Regions from separate parts of the Homo sapiens genome. Here region 1 is linked to region 2. The links are contacts of gene promoters, found by promoter capture Hi-C in human tissues and cell types (Jung and others, 2019). All regions are on one chromosome and are shown on one strand. The core of a region is centred on a gene start or on the middle of the fragment in contact, and the rest is flanking DNA. Distances in the headings are between cores, read along the strand shown.

Region 1 (2,749 bases), core at 139-2,638, 33 kb after region 2:
TACGAGAATGGGAAGATGTGAGATGGGAAGCCACTGGGAAATATTGAGCAAATGTGATTTATGCTTTAAAAGAATCTCTTTCTTTGGCTGCTGAGTTGTGAACAGTGCACTGGCAAGGGCAGAAGCAGGGAGGCCATTTAGGAGACTTGCAACAATCCAGGTCAAATGATGAGAAATAGTTAGGCTTTGGATATACAGCTGACCCTCCATATCCATGGGTTCTACATCCATGGATTTAACCAACCATGGGTCAAAAATATTCAAAGAAGAAAAATGAATGGTTCCATCTGTATCGAACATGTATAGACATTTTTCCTTGTCATTATTTCCTAAACAATACAGTATAACAACTATTTGCATAGCATTTATACTGTATTAGTTATCATAAGTAATCTAGAGATGATTTAAAGTATATGGAAGGATGTGCACAGGTTATGCAAACACTATGGCATTTTATATAAGGAACGTGAGCATCTGTGGATTTTGGTATCCAGAGAGGGTCCTGGAACTAATCCCTCATGAATACCAAGGACAACTGTATATGCAGAACCTATGGGATTTGCTGATAGACTGAATATGGGGTGAGAGAGAAAAAAGTAAAAGATGATTCCAAGGTTTTTGAGTATCTGAATCAAAGTAACTGAATAAATTTGTACAGCCACACTGCATCAAGAATCCAGAAAACTGTAATACTAAATTTGAGTCTTAAAAAAAAAAAATTCCAGAAGATTTCAGAATTAGGAAGGTCCTTTGACACCAAGTTGCAAAGCTAGTATTAGAACTCAGGTTTCCTGAATTTCAGTCCAGTTTTTGTTTTGTCTGTTTGTTTTTTGAGACAGGGTCTCGCCCTGTTGCCCAGGCTGGAGTGCAGTGGCACAATCATTGCTCATCACAGCCTCAAGCTCCTGGGCTTCAAGCAATCCTTTTCTCTCAGGCACTCTCAGGGACTACAGACACACACCACCATGCCCAGTTAAGTTTTTGTATTTTTTGTAGCGACGGGGTCTCACATTGGCCAGGCTGGTCTCGAACTCCTGGGCTCAAGCAATCCTCCTGCCTTGGCCTCCCAAAGTGCTGGAATTACAGGCGTGAGCTACTGTGCTCAGCCTCAGTCCAGTTCTTATTCCATTATACTGCATCACTTTTTCCCCCTGCCTCTTGAATTAAACAATTCCAACCCCTACTCCCCACTACATTCCTCCTGCAGCCAAATTTCACGCGCCCCCCCCCCACCGCCTTTTCTTTTTTTTTTTTTAGACGGAGTCTTGCTCTGCCGCCCAGGCTTGAGTACAGTGGCACCATCTTGGCTCACTGCAACCTTCGCCACCAGATTCAAGCAACTGTCCTGCCTCAGCCTCCTGAGGCTGGGACTACAGATGCTTGCCACCACACCCAGCTAATTTTTGTATTTTTGGTAGATATGGGGTTTCACCATGTTAGCCAGGATGGTCTCAAACGACCCACCCACCTTGGCCACCCAAAGTGCTGGGATTACAGGTGTGAGCCACCGCGCCCAGCCATTCTACCCTTTTCCATCTTCTTCTAATCACCCACTCACCGCGTGGTGAGGTCCGAAGGATGCTGCCATTTTGAGTGCTGCATATGATGAACTTGATCCATCAAGGCACAAAGCTCCCCCGAGATACCTGTGATACAGAGGGATCAGTGGTTAGGAACAGCTGAGTGAACTACGTCAGCCAACGTCAAAGTATGTGTTTTCAGGGAAAGAGAAAACAGGCACTGTTCTCAACAATATATACTTACAATTATCACAAGCAGTGAGCACAGAAACTATAAACCAGAATGGGGAGATTACTCTTGGAGGGTGAAGGTGAAGCAATAATAGCAGCCACCATTCATTCATTCAACACTTAGCTCCTACAATATACAGGGAACTTTACTTGTCCCTAGGAATATGGCAGTGAACAAGACACTACCTCAATGAAGTTTATACAGGAGACAGATGATTCCAAAGTGGTGTGATAAATGCAGTGATAGAAATACAGACTGCTATAGAGACTGGGGGGGTGGGGGTTAGGGAAAGCCCCCTCCAGGGGGAGTAACTATAGCAGGGATCTAAAGGATGTATAAAATTAGTGAGGTAAAGAGGGGTAGGAGGTTGGATGCCAAAAGATAACAGTTAATACAAAGCCCCAGAGACAAAAGACAGCAAATACATTCAAGAAACAAGAGGAGTTTAGAACAGATGGAGGTGGGCGCTCTTTGCTAACAAGAAAAATTGCTAGATGCAATTTCTCAAACACCTGGGATCCTAGCAATGTACTAGACACTTTACATATTATCTTACTTAATTCTAAAAAAAATCTTACATGGAGATAGATGTTATTAATATCATTTCAAAGATGGGAAACTATGGGAGGTGAACTTGCCTGAAATACTTTTTTTTTTTTTGAGACAGAGTCTTGCTCTGTCGTCCAGGCTAGAGTGCAATGGCATGATTTCGGTTCACTGCAACCTCTGCCTCTTGGGTTCAAGTGATTCCCCTGCCTCAGCCTCCTGGGTAGCTGGGACTACAGGCGCCTATCACCATGCCAGGCTAATTTTTATATTTTTAGTAGAGATGGGGTTTCATCATGTTGGCGAGGCTGGACTCCAATTCCTGACCTCAAATGATCCTCCCAAAGTGCTAGGATTACAGGTGTGAGCCACCATGCATGGCCCTGAAATTCTTGATGACCCAGGATTCAACTAGCTCCTGTGTGACTCCATGTCCTTGCCACTATGCAAT
Region 2 (2,700 bases), core at 48-2,547:
CACACATGCCATCACACGCCAACTCGCATGCCGACACCTCTCACATGGCCAGCTGCACGTGGGACCTTCAGGCACCCTTGCCATTTTTCTTTGTTTTCCTTCTGTTTTCCCAGGGGTGCTGCCAGGTCCCAGGAGAGGGAGCTGCAAACCTTCCCAGACCTGCTCGGGGCCCCTTTTCCAAGGAGACCCCCCACCAAGCCCATCCAAGCCTCCCCAACACTTACCCTTCATCTAGTCCTGAAAGGTCCCCTGAGTGCAGGTTAGATTGTGGAGGCTGAGTAGAAGGCAATGAAGAGGAAACAGCCAGCCAGTTCTGCACAAGGATGTAGGCGTGTGTGCAGGTGACCCCCACCCACTTAGGGCAAGGAGGGGCCTCCTTGTGCATACATGTGCATGAAGCTCTGCACACATGTGAATGGGTGTGTTGTGAGTGCATGTGCTCATGCATGATGTGTGCCGCTGGTTTTTGCATTGCATTTGCCTGCCGTGTCTTTCCATCTATGTCCCTGCATGTGCCTCAGATGTGCATGTGATCAGGTATGCACCCGTCACAGCGTGAGGGAATGAGCCCGTGTGGCCATTTGGAGGACCCGTGTGTGTCCTCGGCGGTGTGTCACATGCATGTTTCTGTAAGTTGGTGCCCCTCCTTTCTAGACCAGCCTCTTATGGCCCAGGCTAAGGACCCACCGGACAAGTGAGTGGGAAAGGGCTAAGGAAATGAGAAGGGCTGGGGCATGTCCCGCACTGCCCTCCTCAAGGTCCAAGGAACTGGGTCACCGGGGTGGGGGCAGAGAGATGCGCGGAGCAAGAGAGCTCCTCCAGTGCCCCCTGGGCCCTGCCACCCTCGGAGTTGCCCCTCCCGGTTGCAAGAAGATTCAGCTGCCCGCAAAGACCTCCAGTCCCCCATATGGGAAGAACCCCCTCAGCTCGACCTGAGAAGCCAGCCCCGGGGACCCGCTCCAAACCTCCCTCAGCTCTGTCCCCCAGCCCCCGCCTCCATCCGCTCAGCACTAGGACAGCGCCCGGCGCGTGGCCCCTCCTGGAGGGGGCGCTCCAGGGCGGTCGAACGCGGTTCCTAGGGGCCGGCCACTCGGCGGTCAGGACCCTGGAGAGCACCGCGCGCTTCCCAGTCCCCAGCGCCCCCGCCACCCGGGGCAAGGATTCCCGGGAAGCCCGGGAGCGGCGGTGTTGGGAAGCCCTGGACGTGGGCCCCCAGCTCCGGGAACCCCCTGCCCTCATCCCCCGGCCCCGGCTGGAGCTGCCCCCACTCACCCAGCGACGCGGAGACACCGACTGCGCAGGGAAGGCGGCGCTGCTGCGGCGCGCGCGGCAGGGGCGGCAGGAGGGGCGGGCGGGACTGCGAGGGAGACGCCCCGCAGCGCTCACCCGGAGCCCCTCCCCTGGGGGGGTCCCCGCCAGCCCTGGGGGCTGGGGAGCGGCGCGCTGGGCTCCGCCCCCCACCCCCGCCCCGGAGAGAAGGGGACGCCCTCAGTTCCCCGGTCCCCCTCGAGGGAGCACCCTGCCCGGGGAGGAGGATCGCGGCGCCCCTCTCCTCGGCACCTCGGCTCTGGTGGCCGGAATGGAGGGACACGGTAGTGCCAAGAGGTCTCTCTCCTGAGCCGGGGGCGATCCCAGGCCACTCCGCCCCGCTTCCTTCCCCATACCCACCTGGGCTCTGAGCCGCACGTCGCTTCGAGGGCCGAATTGGCACCCTGGGCACCCTCCCTGCTCCTGCGCCTCAACTCCCAACTAACGGAGCTGGGAGCGTGGAGCGCCCATTCCTCCAGCTACTGAGGTCTTCGGGGTAGGGGACCAGACACGCCCCCTTCCCCACCTCCACCTTGGCGAGCCGGCCCCCATGTCAAACCCACCACTCCAGACCTCACCCCGACCCCCCTCTCAGAATTAATCCCACCTCCCAACTTTGGTGTCAGCTGCTCCTCCCACTCCCCCTTCCAATCAAGGAAACCCCCTCCCTTCCTCCCTCCCCAGCCTCTGATTGTGCAGGCCATGACAGGAGGGCAGAACATCTGCCTGGGGATCCTGTGGCACCTACCCACTGCCTGCCGACCGCACAGCTCCTCTCCAGAGTCGATGACCCCTAGCCCAGCTCCTCCTGCCCCCAGCCTCAGCAACATTCTCCGCATGCTGGGCTGAGATTTTGTCCTTTTTCCATTTCTAGGGGTTGGTCCTTATTGTCCCCATGAAGAAATGGGCTCAAAGGGGTTAAGTGATTTTTCCAGTGTGTGCGCCCTCATCCATTCATTCCACAAATACATATAAAACACTAGTTCTGCGGCCAGCATTGTTCTGTCTAGATAGTGGGACTACAGGCGCAGACAATAAACAATGGACACAATATACATGTCGATATTAGACATGTGTTTTTAAACGTTGGGATTTGGGTGTGGCAGTTAGAATGGTAACTGCCATTGGGGCCATCCAGGGCCTTGGGGCCTATGACAATGACTTTAGGCTTTTTATTCCAGATGAGATGGGAAGTCCTGGGGGGCTTTGAGCAGAGTGAGAGGGTGTGACCTCCATGTGGACAGCTTCCTTGGGTTATTATGTCAAGAAGAGACTTTGAGGAGTTGGGGGCAAGGTGGGAGAAGGGGCCATTTCAGGCTGAGAGATGGCCGGGGTGGGTCTGGTTTCTGGATTTACTTCGCAGGTAAAGCCGGCAGCATTTGCCATCTGCCC

What was found. Contacts are between HindIII fragments. The study calls those that stand out against the background at their distance.
Region 1: a contact is called between a fragment that was not itself captured here and the fragment with the promoter of HPCA in region 2, in 6 of the 25 tissues and cell types used here (bladder, mesenchymal stem cells, ovary and 3 more).

Annotation. Positions count from the first base shown.
Region 1 is chr1:32,851,976-32,854,724 of GRCh38, reverse strand. S100PBP (S100P binding protein) reads right to left here. Exons shown (of 7, transcript NM_022753.4): 6 at 1,559-1,646. Among named protein-coding and RNA genes, the nearest start is that of FNDC5, 18 kb to the left of the region's middle. RefSeq lists an enhancer at 539-708. The HindIII fragment of the contact is 6,967 bases long and covers 1-2,749 here.
Region 2 is chr1:32,885,088-32,887,787 of GRCh38, reverse strand. It overlaps HPCA (hippocalcin), which reads right to left and starts at 1,297. Exons shown (of 4, transcript NM_002143.3): 1 at 1,273-1,297. RefSeq lists a cis regulatory region at 618, an enhancer at 534-703 and silencers at 959-1,008, 1,089-1,178. The HindIII fragment of the contact is 37,453 bases long and covers 1-2,700 here.